5 separate regions of the Homo sapiens genome follow, and all the other regions are linked to region 2. The links are contacts of gene promoters, found by promoter capture Hi-C in blood cells and fetal thymus (Javierre and others, 2016). All regions are on one chromosome and are shown on one strand. The core of a region is centred on a gene start or on the middle of the fragment in contact, and the rest is flanking DNA. Distances in the headings are between cores, read along the strand shown. Region 1 holds the start of SLC28A2 (solute carrier family 28 member 2). Region 2 holds the start of AFG2B (AAA ATPase AFG2B). Region 3 overlaps SLC28A2 (solute carrier family 28 member 2). Region 4 overlaps BLOC1S6 (biogenesis of lysosomal organelles complex 1 subunit 6). Region 5 has its middle 14 kb from the start of BLOC1S6.

What was found. Contacts are between HindIII fragments. The CHiCAGO score rates a contact against its expected background, and 5 or more counts as called.
Region 1: a contact is called between the fragment with the promoter of SLC28A2 here and the fragment with the promoter of AFG2B in region 2, in 1 of 17 cell types (M2 macrophages). The highest score is 5.2, in M2 macrophages.
Region 3: a contact is called between a fragment that was not itself captured here and the fragment with the promoter of AFG2B in region 2, in 9 of 17 cell types (naive CD8 T cells, naive CD4 T cells, monocytes and 6 more). The highest score is 7.9, in naive CD8 T cells.
Region 4: a contact is called between a fragment that was not itself captured here and the fragment with the promoter of AFG2B in region 2, in 14 of 17 cell types (total B cells, naive B cells, naive CD4 T cells and 11 more). The highest score is 11.6, in total B cells.
Region 5: a fragment that was not itself captured here is called in contact with the fragment with the promoter of AFG2B in region 2 in 13 of 17 cell types (monocytes, naive CD8 T cells, total B cells and 10 more); the score reaches 10.3 in monocytes.

Annotation. Positions count from the first base shown.
Region 1 is chr15:45,250,984-45,253,683 of GRCh38, forward strand. SLC28A2 (solute carrier family 28 member 2) reads left to right here and starts at 1,251. Exons shown (of 18, transcript NM_004212.4): 1 at 1,251-1,295; 2 at 2,217-2,313; 3 at 2,449-2,537. The coding sequence starts at 2,233. SLC28A2-AS1 (SLC28A2 antisense RNA 1) reads right to left here. Exons shown (of 5, transcript NR_120335.1): 5 at 598-1,089. The HindIII fragment of the contact is 6,298 bases long and covers 53-2,700 here.
Region 2 is chr15:45,401,036-45,403,735 of GRCh38, forward strand. It overlaps AFG2B (AAA ATPase AFG2B), which reads left to right and starts at 1,301. Exons shown (of 8, transcript NM_024063.3): 1 at 1,301-2,483. The coding sequence starts at 1,395. It also overlaps a transcript of GATM not described here. RefSeq lists enhancers at 754-803, 814-883, 1,274-1,433 and silencers at 1,514-1,593, 1,984-2,133. The HindIII fragment of the contact is 3,246 bases long and covers 1-2,700 here.
Region 3 is chr15:45,269,742-45,272,441 of GRCh38, forward strand. SLC28A2 (solute carrier family 28 member 2) reads left to right here. Exons shown (of 18, transcript NM_004212.4): 15 at 454-535; 16 at 2,554-2,652. The region is part of intron 1 of SLC28A2-AS1 (SLC28A2 antisense RNA 1); the gene reads right to left. Among named protein-coding and RNA genes, the nearest start is that of SLC28A2-AS1, 8.1 kb to the right of the region's middle. The HindIII fragment of the contact is 8,722 bases long and covers 1-2,700 here.
Region 4 is chr15:45,603,866-45,606,565 of GRCh38, forward strand. It overlaps BLOC1S6 (biogenesis of lysosomal organelles complex 1 subunit 6), which reads left to right. Exons shown (of 5, transcript NM_012388.4): 4 at 1,563-1,649; 5 at 2,530-2,700. The coding sequence ends at 2,649. Among named protein-coding and RNA genes, the nearest start is that of BLOC1S6, 18 kb to the left of the region's middle. The HindIII fragment of the contact is 4,089 bases long and covers 1-2,700 here.
Region 5 is chr15:45,571,644-45,574,343 of GRCh38, forward strand. No RefSeq gene overlaps it. Among named protein-coding and RNA genes, the nearest start is that of BLOC1S6, 14 kb to the right of the region's middle. The HindIII fragment of the contact is 5,703 bases long and covers 1-2,700 here.

The DNA.
Region 1 (2,700 bases), core at 1-2,500, 150 kb before region 2:
CAATCAGAGTGCAGGGAGGGGTCCTAAGTTTTATCCAGAGGGCGTCATAGGAAGCTTTCTTTCTTTCTTTCCAGGCCAGGATAAGTGTTACCAGCTCTGTAAAGTCTTTCTCTCCCTCTTTTTTTTTTTTTTTTTTTTTTTTGAGATGGAGTCTCGCTCACCCAGGCTGGAGTGCAGTGGCATGATCATGGCTCACTGCAACCTCTGCCTCCTGGGTTCAAATGATTCTCCTGCCTCAGCCTCCTGAGTAGCTGAGATTACAAGCCTGCACCACCATGCCCGGATAATTTTTGTATTTTTAGTAGAGATGGAGTTTCGCCATGTTGGCCAGGGTGGTCTCGAGCGCCTGACCTCAAATGATCCGCCTGCCTCTGCCTCCCAGTGTGCTGGGATTACAAGCGTGATTCACCGCGCTCGACCTGCAAAGCCTTTCTTGACACATCCGTCTTTCCTCACTGATCTGTTCGTTTTTTGATGGCAGAGACCTTGTCTCACTCATTTTTATGTCCTCACACGGAAAACGGTGGCTGGCTAATAGTGGTTACTCAATAAGTATTTGTTGAATGGATTAATAAAATAATTCCTAGCAGTCATTTGGCATGGAATCATGTACAGTCGTGCTGTTTATTGTTTTCTAGGGCATGTCTTTCCAGCACAAAATGATGGTAAATTTTCTGGGTGCAGAGACGGCTCTTACTGTATTTTACAGGCTACCCAGTGCCTAGTCCAGTGGTGGGTAATGCTTACAGGAATGTACCTGTTAGAAGTTCTTACAGAATTCTTTTGTTTTGTTTTGTTTTCTGACAGGGTCTCACTCTGTCGCCCAGGCTGGAGTGCAGTGGCGCAATCACAGCTCACTGCAACCTCCACCTCCAGAGGCTCAAGGGATCCTTCCACCTCCGCCTGCCGAGTAACTGGAACCACAGTCGTGTGCCACCGCGCCCAGCTAATTTTTGTATTTGTTGTAGAGATGTGGTTTCGCCATGTTATCCTGGCTGGTCTCAAGCGATCCGCCCGTCTCGGCCTCCCGAAGTGCTGGGATTACGGGCGGGCGCCACCTCTGCATAAGTCTTAGGCCTGCAAAACAGTCTTAAAAACATATAATATTTAACTTGAGAGGTGCAGTCCTCCTCTACATTGAGGGCAGGCTCAGCGAAGGAGGGCCCAAGACATAAAACTAACCAATGGCAGGAAAGCCCCCATGCCCCACCCAAGCTGCCCCTCCTCCCTCGCAGCTGAGCTTTTCTTTCAGTCCTTCACTGAGGAGCCAGAGGGAATCAATTCCACAAGCTGGGGTAAGTAAAGGTGTTTGGGGGAGGGCAGGTGCCTAATTTACAAATTTTTAAAGAGATCATATTTAAACTAAATGCAGGTAGTTTTGTGCCTAGTCAGGAAGGCCCTAATTTACACAATATAAGTTGGTTATGTGTGTTTAATGAAATTATACTTCAAATGCTTGAAGAGATCACATTTTCAAAAGCAATTCCATGGGGAAGGGAATTTTCTGCAAAGTAAATAAATATCTCAGAATGAACTTATATTCTAATTGTGAATGTCCATGTATTAAATTTGCTTATTCTGAGGCCCAAATGTTTGCTTATTTTGTTTAAAAACTTTACTTGGGATCATTAACATTCATACTAATTATTTTAAATGTAAGTTTTGTTAATTTCACTGATGAGTTCTCTCTGGGGCATAAAAAACCAATTCTTATGCTACATTATAGTCAGGAATTTGAAGGCCTGTAAATTGTTATCTGTTCAGCAATACTTTAGGGTCCGGGTCTTCCCAACTGCCTTCCTCCCTGTTTCCTTCTTACTCAGCAAGCTCAGTGGGGCCTCCCTGGGGCTAAAAGGAGTAGTTACCCTGTGACTCTTTCTTTGAGGGTCCAAGTAGGAACCTTTATAGCCCAGATCCTGGGGCCCTGGGCGGCCCACTGATTCATTTCAATTCCACTGCCTTTCATTTCTCTTCTCCTATCTTACTGCCTCTTCTTTAGCTATTCACAAGAGGAAATAGGATTTTATTTTTCATTATTTATTATATAAAAATTACACATCCAATCTTCTCAATTCTCAGTTCTTAAAGAAATCAACTAAGCCTTCAAAGACTTTTAGTTTTGCGTTTTCCATGGGTAACTGGTCCTAAAAATTCTCCCCATCCCCACAGAACAGAATGACCAATCTTTCAGGCTTGGCCCTGAATTTGTTTTTCAGTTGAGGAGAACAGGAGATGGAGAAAGCAAGTGGAAGACAGTCCATTGCTCTGTCCACAGTGGAGACTGGCACAGTGAACCCGGGGCTGGAGCTCATGGTAATCACCAGTTTAGTTTCTCTCTGCAGAGCTGTGGGCTGCTGCATGGGCTCCTGTAGGGTATTTGGCTGCTCTCAATCCCCATCATCCCTGGCAGGGCTCCATGACTGATCCCAATGCTCTCTGTGCTTGTAGGAAAAAGAAGTAGAGCCTGAGGGAAGCAAGAGGACTGACGCACAAGGACACAGCCTGGGGGATGGACTGGGCCCTTCCACTTACCAGAGGTACTGGTGTTTTGGAATCTTGTTCAGTTAGGAAAGGATCTAGGGTGGGCTGCCCCTTCAGGCAGCTTGTGGTATTATCACAACCGCTCCACCTTACCATGTGTACATATATATATGTATCTTACATAATTAATTAACTTAAACATGTGCCATAAACTCCATA
Region 2 (2,700 bases), core at 51-2,550:
TGGGATTAAGAGGAAAAAAGAAAACAGGAAGTAATGGGTGACTTATCCATTTCAAGACCTCCTCCTGCTATTTTCTGATTCCTAAATTGTTCCAGAATCGATTTAAGCAGACAAGTACAGCTGAGACCAGGTAAGTTACTGTCAAGTCAAGAAGTCTGTCATGTCTGCCATGAAGTTTGGACAGAATGAGATCAGGAACTGGCATGGGTCTTAAGATCCCAGATCTGACAGTACTTCCCATTGATAAGATATTACTACACAGTCTGTAATTGATTATTTGCATAGATAGAAAAAAAAAACTTCCCAGCAACTTAAGCACTCTAAAATATCAGTTTTGTCAACTCACAAATTTGGGTTGCAGTGAAAGTGGGGAAAATAGAGGTAGGAAGATGTAAGTCAAATAAAAACAAGGTATATCTTCTTGTCTTTGAGTATCTGTAGTTCTTTTTTAACGGCAATTAAGAGGGATAGAAAATGTATTCCAGCTGATAAAAAGGAATTCCCTGTGCGAAAGGGAAAGGCAGAAAGCAGCTGGAAAAAAAAAATAGCAGGCAGTTGTCTTAATAACGTAGATAGGTATCGCCTCTAATACAGGACTTAGTACTGTTGTGCCCCAATTAGACAGTAAGCATTGATCGCATGAACTTTAGTGATTAACTTGTTGCCAAAGAATATTCAAAAGAATATCAGAAATCAGAACAAATGTACTGTTGGTGTGCTACAAATCCATCAGGTAGCCTAGTTTTCCTTCTTTCCTCTCTACAAGGGATTTTAAGCGCTACCGTGTGCTTCCCTCCCACTATGCTGGTACTTTCCCATAGGAAGGGTTGTGCCTGGACCTCCCAGATTGGAACCCCGATTACCGAAGGTCCCAAGGCTGTATTCTCAGTTACGCCAAGTCACCTGAGACATTTGCACCAGAGCACCCAAAATTCTGTGCCCATGCGGATAGTTAGAGTTTCTTCACAAAATAGCAAAGTCTCTAGGTTGCTATTCCAACGGCGGTAGTACTGATGCTCCAGTTCGAAGGCCAGGAAAACAGAATGTAAAGCCGGTGACTTCCAAGATATATGTAACCACCAAAGTACATGCTTAATGACCTAGTGAAGTGAGCTTAAGCCGCCTCCCAGACACCTGTAACGAAGACCATCTCGGGAAAGCTCTGGGTTAGGCAACTCGATTTCACGAAAGCGGACACCAACGCTCTACCCAGAGGCCCGAGCGTCGTCTAACGTTTCCATTGGCCCTTTCGGCCTTCACTCAGCTGCTAGCAACGCAGTCTGCCCTAGCGCATGCGCGCAATCTGCTTCCGGCCTGCGAGCTCGGTGTTCCGCTTTTTGTGGGCCGGGTGGGTTTCCTAATCTGGTTTCGTCTGCCTGGTTCATCTGTGTGCGATGGCTCCGGACTCGGATCCCTTCCCTGAAGGGCCGCTCTTAAAGCTGCTACCCTTAGACGCTAGAGACCGGGGCACCCAGCGCTGCCGCCTGGGCCCGGCCGCCCTCCACGCCCTGGGCGCGCGCTTGGGCTCGGCAGTGAAGATCTCGCTACCCGACGGCGGCTCCTGCCTCTGCACTGCCTGGCCTCGGCGGGACGGAGCGGACGGCTTTGTGCAGCTGGACCCGCTGTGCGCGAGCCCCGGGGCGGCGGTCGGGGCGTCGAGATCCCGGAGGAGTCTCAGCCTGAATCGCCTCCTCCTAGTGCCCTGTCCGCCCCTGCGGCGCGTCGCCGTGTGGCCGGTGTTGCGAGAGCGGGCAGGCGCGCCCGGTGCCCGGAATACAGCCGCGGTGCTGGAGGCGGCACAGGAGCTGCTGAGAAACCGACCGATCTCCCTGGGCCACGTGGTGGTCGCTCCGCCAGGCGCTCCTGGCCTGGTGGCTGCCTTGCACATCGTCGGCGGGACGCCCAGTCCCGATCCCGCTGGGCTGGTCACCCCTCGTACCCGCGTCAGCCTTGGCGGGGAGCCTCCGTCGGAAGCCCAGCCGCAGCCCGAGGTGCCCCTGGGAGGTCTTTCGGAGGCGGCCGACTCGCTGCGGGAGCTCCTCCGCCTCCCGCTCCGCTACCCGCGCGCCCTGACCGCGCTGGGCTTAGCGGTGCCTCGCGGGGTGCTCCTGGCGGGGCCCCCCGGAGTGGGCAAGACCCAGCTGGTGCGGGCCGTGGCGCGCGAGGCGGGCGCGGAGCTGCTGGCAGTCAGCGCCCCGGCGCTGCAGGGTTCCCGGCCTGGGGAGACCGAGGAGAACGTGCGGCGGGTCTTCCAGCGCGCCCGGGAACTGGCCAGCCGCGGACCCAGCCTCCTCTTCCTGGACGAGATGGACGCCTTGTGTCCCCAGCGGGGCAGTCGAGCACCCGAGAGCCGCGTAGTGGCCCAGGTGTTGACGCTGCTGGACGGCGCCAGTGGGGACCGCGAGGTCGTGGTTGTGGGAGCCACTAACCGGCCGGACGCTCTAGACCCAGCGCTGCGTAGGCCCGGGAGATTTGACCGAGAGGTGAATGGGCTTGGCGGGTTTGCCCACTGTCGGTGGAACCTCGGCCGCTTCTGGCGCCATTTGGCTGCCCCGGAGGCGTTTGCCTCTTAGGTTTGAGCATCGGTGAGGTTGGAGTTGGGGCTCTTTGCAATGCAGAGAACACGTTCTCTGCCGATATATGATCTGTGAGTCAGGACCTGTATTTCCCCAGAGTCAAATTGTCAGGACCTGTGAGTCA
Region 3 (2,700 bases), core at 201-2,700, 130 kb before region 2:
CTGCCACCCCCACCACTGCCCCAACTGTGACCCAACTTCTCTCTATAATGTAATTGCTGGGTCTTTACAGCTGGGGCAGTCCAGGGCAGACACTATCTTTTGATGGTCTAAGGTCCCCTTCTTCACTTATAAGTTTAAATTGCTCCAAATTAATATTCTTTTTCTTTCCCTTTGCCTCTCTCCTCCTCCTTCGCAATCCTTCTCATTCCCAGGCCTTCTCGTTATTCATAGCCTTCAACAGGAACAGCGTTGGGCAATGAGGCCCATGGTGGTTTCCATGTCATTATCCCTATAGTAACTCAGGGAACAGTTGTTTTCTGAGCATCCTTTCATGTTCCTTGGGAAACCATGGAAAAGACTGGGGGCTGTCAGTACTCTGGAACTTCTATTGTGATTATAAGACCGCACGCATGGGACTGAATTTATTTGCTTATTTATTTTTGTTTTCCCTAGGTGAGAGCTGAAATCATTACAACATTTTCACTCTGTGGATTTGCCAATCTTAGTTCCATAGGAATCACACTTGGAGGCTTGAGTGAGTTCATCCATTTTCCCAGCTCCCCAGTAAGACAGCCAGATCCCAGCTTCTGTAGTGGGCAGTCCTGGTGCTTCAGTACAAGCTGGGATCAGATAGAGAAGCCATTGTGAAATGGGCCCATTTCTTAGGCTGCAGTTAACTTGGACCTAAGGCAGTCATGCCCACCTGGCTAATGCATACAGCCCTTTATAATCTCAACTTCAGTTACTTCTTTTTCCTTTGGATTGGAGGCCCCAAAAACTAATTTTATTTTAATTTTCTCTATGAGGAAGAAAATATAATGATATTATTTCAATTTTGCCATTAAATTGGAATAGTGCATATATAAATAAAGATATTTATTTATTTATTTATTTAATTTTTTTTGAAACAGAGTCTCACTCTGTTGCGCAGGCTGGAGTGCAGTGGTGTGATCTCAGCTCACTTAAACCTCCACCTCCTGGGTTTAAGTGATTCTCATGCCTCAGCCTCCCGAGCTGGGATTACAAGTGTGTGCCACTATGCCCATTATTATTATTATTATTTTTTTTGTATTTTTAGAAGAGACGGGGTTTCACCATGTTGGCCAAGCTGGTCTTGAATTCCTGGCCTCAAGTGATCTGCTGCCTTGGCCTCCCAAAATGTTGGGATAACAGGCGTGAGCCACCACACCTGGTCTTGTATTTTATTCAGTAGTGAAGACACTTTTTGAAATTAGGCTGCTCACTAGTCATCCTCATGGAAACACAAAGAATTAAAACAAATAAAAGCAGCAGGCACATAAGGCAGATAGACAGTAAGAGAGAGTGGTGTAAAGTGTTGGATTTAAATATGCAAGTACCAAATGTTAAAGGAGTGGGTCTTTGAAGCAGACACAGATATATTTAGACTGTTGGAGATACTGCTGCATGGGGGTGATTGTTGGAGGAATAATATGAGGAAAGTGGAATTGTCCTTGAGTGCAGGGGCACAGGGGTGACTAGCAGATCCCAAGTTTGGAAGATCCAAGTTAGAAATGGATCTTAGGCTGGATGTGGTGGCTCATGCCTGTAATCCCAACACTTTGGGCCAAGGCAGGAAGATTGCTTGCTATAGGAGTTTGAGAGCAGCCTGGGGCAACATGGTGAGATTCTGTCTCTACGAAGAATTTGAAAGTTAGCTGGGCATATTTGCACATATGCCTGTAGTCCTATCTACTCGGGAGGCTGAGGTGGGAGGATTGCTTGAACTCAGATCGAGCCTCCAGTAAGCTGTGATTGCACCACTGCACTCCGGCATGGGTGACATGGGGAGGTCCTGTAGAAAGAAAAAAAGAAGAAAAGGAAGGAAGGAAGGAAGGAAGGAAGGAAGGAAGGAAGGAATCTTAGAAGGAGTAGATTATAATAAGAAATATAGCTCAGTGTGTCCCTTTTTAAAGGCAATTATATTCTGGGGTAGAGTCATTTAATTCATGTACTTGGTAGCCAATTTAATTGAAAGGTGAAATAATTCCCTTTCAGTTTACCTTTTCCCCTTCTGTCAAACACCTGACTGTATTGTTCTAGTCTTGATGCCTGATTACTGTCCGATTATGAGACTGCCATCTAGTAGTGGGATATGCATTGTGTGGCTAAGTCTTAGGCCACACAATGAGTGTTGCTTTCCTTAGCCCTCTGTCTCAAAATAGTCCATCTAATTCTGGTCCAGGCTTAAGAGTGCGTATCTCAAGCAGTGAACGCCAGGCATTTGTACCTGTCTGGAGAAACCCAGAGCCTTGCTTTATCCAGATACATCTTGGGTATGTTCACAGAACCATTAAAGTGAGGGTCAGACACTCAATACTTGATCTGAGGAAAGTCTAAGTTAGTGATCCCTCAGGACTAATGTATACACACACTTCTTAGGGCAACACTGGCCAGTCTCAGGTGGATGGTAATAAGGATGCTCTTCATCGGCTGTGTTTTGTTTCTCTGCGTTCTTCTAAGTGGGGGCCCATGGGATATACCTGATTGCCTTGGTGGGGAAAAGCTGAAGTTATTTTATTTTATTGTCTGCAGCATCAATAGTACCTCACCGGAAGAGTGACTTGTCCAAGGTTGTGGTCAGGGCCCTCTTCACAGGGGCCTGTGTATCCCTTATCAGTGCCTGTATGGCAGGTAGGTGCCTCAGCTCTGATGGAGATACTGCTGCATGAGGGTGATGGT
Region 4 (2,700 bases), core at 201-2,700, 200 kb after region 2:
ATAATAAATTAATGCTATAGGCTGAAGTGGACGCTTTGAGAATGATCAGTTATATCTTTCAATATAAATAGTTGAACAGTTGAATTTCATCAGAAGTTCTATAGCTTTTTGATGAGAGGAAGTGATACTCTGTATTATAAGAAACAAGGAATTAACCAAAAAAAGGAACTTGTTTTGCTACCTTTATTTTCTGATGAACATTAAAAATAGTTTTGTTTGTGGGCAGGGCACAGTGACTTATGACTGTAATCCCAGCACTTTGGGAGGCTGAGGTAGGAGGATTACTTGAGGCGTGCAGTTTAAGACCAACCTGGCCAACGTAGCAAGACCCCATCTCTATTAAGAAAAAAAGAAGCTGGGTTTACATGACTGTAGCCATTCATGCATACCTCAAAAAAATGGACTTTTCTTTGGACAAAGATGGTTTACTAATGTTTTCCATTTGTAACAATTAAAAACAAAGTTCATATTCTCTGGCATTAGAGGCCTGTGGAAGTAAATACAGAGCCATCTGCCCAGTAGTTCCTGGTTTCTTGCGAGGGAGGTGGGCAAGGCTACACTGACCTATTTTTGTGTTCCCCACTGAAATCCTGTTGCAACAGAAGGAATATTTGTTGAATGAATGAATGTTGAATGAATTAACCAAGCAGATGTAATACTGTTGCTTTAGTCTGAAGGGGCAGGATGGAGTCTTCCTCTTTTTTCTTCTCTTAGTCAAGAGTAGTTTTTATTATCATCTGGGAACTGAAAACTGGAAGGCCCAGGATATGTAAAAAGGCACTGTAACTTCTGAGCTAATCAGACAATGACTTTACTTGCAGCTACATTAAGGCTGTGAATCTCTCTACTGACATTTCTTTCATTTCTTCTCTTTCTGTAACCTTGTCTGAAAATAGGGTGCTTTTCTCCTTCTCTCTGACATCTCTAGGCTTGCATCATCCTCCCATCTTCTCCTGACATAAGACTTCATTTTAGATTATGCAGGTTGGCTGAGTTGTAAAGTCTGTACTTAAGACTCCTCAAGAAGGAAAGTGTCCTCACAGAGATCATTCTGCTTAGTCTGACTAAAGCAGCCCAAGGAATGGATTAAACTTGTCCACAGTCCTTTCTGTCCAGGGCTCTGTGGCCACAGTTTGGGTTTTCCTTATGGGCAGACACTTCACTTAAACTGTTTCATGTGCTCTGGCTCAGTCTGTCTCTTGTAAAGGCAGAGAGAATGTTTTACTTTTCTTAAATGAAACTGATAGCATTATTAGATAGTCTTATCTGAAATTTTAGAATTATATGTTTTTAAAGCAAAATATTGTCTATGCCCATCTTAATATAAATGTCTATTTTATGTTTAGTAACACTTTTGTCAATCTGAACTAAATCAAATGTCTTTCAAATCCTACTAACAATATAAGGAAATCTTTATTTTGGAATTAAAATGTGAAGATAAGGCTGTAAAAATTTTGACCAATTTAGGAAGCACAAACTATCATTTATATATTGCCTTATTTATTCATTTTGATATTTTAGTCTATTTTAACTTGACTTTTCATTTATTTTTCCATGTTAAGTTTGCTGAGGCTAAACACTATCATGCCAAGTTGGTGAATATAAGAAAAGAGATGCTGATGCTTCATGAAAAAACATCAAAGTTAAAAGTGAGTTGAAAATTCTTTCACATTCTTTACAAAAGTAGAGGTTTAATTGTTTTTTGTTGTTTTTTTTTTTTTTCAGTATTCTTTTTTTTTTTGAGACGGAGTTTTGCTCTTGCCGCCCAGGCTGGAGTGCAATGGTGCAATCTCGGCTCACTGCAACCTCTGCCTCCGGGGTTGAAGCGATTCTTCTGCCTCAGCTCCCCAGGTAGCTGGGATTACAGGTGCCCGCCACCACACCCACCTAATTTTTGTATTTTTAGTAGAGACAGCGTTCTACCATGTTGGCCAGGCTGGTCTCAAACTCCTGACCTCAGGTGATACGCCTGCCTTGGCCTCCCAAAGTGCTGAGATTACAGGCGTGAGCCACTGTGCCCGGCCAGTATTCATATTTTGACTTTTATACCCTCATATACAATAGCATAATTCATTCATGGTACATTGTTTTCTTTTTAAAAATGTCATTGTTTAAGAAATATTAGAGACAGGGTCTCACTACGTTTCCGAGGCTGGTCTTAAACTCCTGAGCTCAAGCAGCCCTCTGGCCTCGACCTCCCTAAGTGCTGGGATTACAGACATGAGCCACTGCGTGCAGCCTTAAAAATATCATTTTTTTTTCAACTGCACTCTGAGCATTTTTACTAATAGCTGGGCTGATAGGCTTAGATTCTCTGGATATGCCCTACAGTTCTCATTTAATAAGAGTTTAGAGCAACAAATTTTTTTGAATCAAAGGGACCTTAAATTATCCCAAATTTAAATGTCCAAGATGAAGTTTATTAGTGTGAATGAATTACCTCAAAGCAGAGCACTGTTATTTTCAAATTAGGCTAAACCTGTAACCCCTGATTGCTCTCTTGGTTTTTAAATTTTTTTTTTAACACAGAAAAGAGCACTTAAACTGCAGCAGAAGAGGCAAAAAGAAGAGTTGGAAAGGGAGCAGCAACGAGAGAAGGAGTTTGAAAGAGAAAAGCAGTTAACTGCCAGACCAGCCAAAAGGATGTGAAAAGTTGTGTTTGTGTGTTTTCTTCTCCTGTCCCATATTTGGGTTATGATG
Region 5 (2,700 bases), core at 131-2,630, 170 kb after region 2:
CTTTGTATTATTGACCTCATTACATTATAAGGAAATTGAATTTTTAAAATATCATCTCACCTTTTGGTCTGGAGAATCTTTGGAAATAATTCACATTTAGCAACTGAAACACTTTGAAGAGAACATTTTAAGTAAAAAAAGGACTATTTTGCATAGCTAATGCAAGTACTTATTTTAGCAATTTTAAATGAAGCATGATCTATCTCCTAGCTAATTTAAATAAATCTATCCTAAAAGGAAAGCTGAGTCCTGGAATAATATATGATGCCTATGGTCATTAAAATCACACTTTTTCCATAACATAGAGAATAAAGTAATAATGACTGATGGCTACTTTGATATCTACATGTAAGATTAACAAATGAATTTTGTGAAAACCCCAAAGTGGAAGAAGAATCGCTGTCTTTTGAATAATATTTAAAGTTATTTGAATGAATCATCATTTGTGACTAGTTTTACTAATAGTTCAAAAACACTGATACTATTTCAAATGATTAACACTCAATATTACGGATATTCATTTACTGTCAGATTTGATAATACTAAATAAAAAATAAAAAAGATTCCCCACCTGCCAATAGAAGCAGAACACTGGTATTGGTGATGTTCTCTATCCCTCACAGCTTGATCTTCTAATTTTGCAGGTTTGCAACTTCAGTTGCCAGCTTAACCAGTTGATATTAACCACTAAAAAACTGCCTATTGTATGAAGTTGATTTGTATAAAAGAAATGAATTTTAATAAAACATAGAATTGCCAAGCCCTCCGATATTCATTTAAGTCATTTAGTCCCTCTTATTTCAACAGAGAAGTCTACATAAGAAGCCAAATTAAGGTTGAATGGTTACTTAGGAAACCTAAAGTCTATTTAAGAGATCACATTAAGGTTAGTGAATATATGTATCCAAGGCACTAATAACAGAAATAATACTATTTCTTCTAGCCATAATAAATGCTCGTTTAGTGGGTGCTATTATTTACAATAGTGTCTTGCAGCAGTTTACAAATCCTGTTCATATAATGCGTGCTTGATTCTTACAAGAACTACACCGAGTAATGGGTCTGGTATTATCATTATCATGCCTCTTTTACTGATGAAAAAAACACAGGTTCAGAGAGTAAGTGACTTGACTAAAATCTCATAACTGATATAGTTGACATCTGTTGTTTTGGTTGGGCCAATTTCCTTCCTCTTTTTGGTAATAGGACTCTGATTTTTCCTTTAAGGAACTACCCAGTGCCTTTCTATAACTCCTAGCAGGTCTGTCAGTCAAGGGGCTCTGCCTCTGTCTGTTATGTGTGACCCACACTGACCCATCAGGGTCCACTATATTCCCCTAGATGCAGAGATTGGTATACGGGTGGGCATGTAATCCAAGTATTTGAGTGTTTTTTTTTTTTTTGAGATGGAGTCTTGCTCTGTTGCCCAGGCTGGAGTGCAGTGGTGCAATCTTGGCTCACTGCAACCTCTGCCTCCTGGGTTCAAGCAATTCTCCTACCTCAGCCTCCCGAGTAGCTGGGATTACAGGCATGCGTCACCACACCTGGCTAATTTTTGTATTTTTTGTAAAGACGGGGTTTCACCATGTTGGCCAGGCTGGTCTTGAACTCCTGACCTCAAGTGAGCCACCTGCTTCAGCCTCCCAAAGTGCTGGGATTACAAGTGTGAGCCACTGTGCCTGGCTTTGAGTTTTTTTTTTTTTTTTTTTAAGGGATTGAAATAAATGAATGCTAGGAGCGCACTGACTTCACTTGGGAGATGTAAGGATCATGAAACCCTGGAGCTATTTTCCTATCACATTGAGAGAGCTCCTAGAGTGAATGCTACATAGGAGAAAGCAGAGTGGAGAATCAAAGGGAGAGAGAGGGAGAGATTCCTATTTTGGCTGAGGAGAAGACATAGAAATCCTTGAAGCCAGAGCAGCCCCCGGACTTTCAAGCTCAGTTGATCAAAACTTCCTTTGTTTGTTTAGGAAGGTCTGGACTTCTCTACTTGCTAGTTGGTTAGACAAAAATCTAATACAGCTAATGATTATCTTAGCTGGGCTTGAAACAAATCTTTTGACTTTAGCCCTTTGCTATTTCTTTTCTTGGGATATTTGAGGTGCTGCTTTTCTGGCTGGAAACCTCTGTGGGTGGTGGTGCCTTTGCCCAAGTTCTTGTCCTATGTCCAGGAAGAGTGATGTATGCAGACAAGTGGAGGGTGAGCAAGACGAAGAAGAACTTTACTGAGGGTCAGAACAGCTCAGAGGAGACCCGCGGTGAGCAGGTCCTCTCTGTGGGCAGGTCGTCCCATCGAGTGTGCAGCTCTCAGCAGAGAGGAGGCCTGGAGTGGATGGCTCCTCTCTGCTGACAGGTCATCCCCAAAAATGTTCATCTCTCAGCGGAGATGGTAGTTCCTCTATGCAGCTGGCCATCCTGATGTCTGCCCTGCTCTGGCTGAGTCTGGGGTTTTTATGGTTTTCATTCAGAGTGGGGAAAGTATATGCTGATTGGTCCATGGGCAGCAATAGGTGGGCTCAGGAAAAAGCACCACAAGTTCCCCCTCTGGTGGGCAGGACTGGTAGGACCTTCCCTGGCCTGAAAGTGGAGCTTCACTGGGGACCCACCCCCTTCCTCCCAGGAGCCTGTCTGCCTCTCACGGCCATTCATTGGCACCCAGGATGTTTGTGCCAAGAGGTGCCTGCAGGCCAGTGTTGA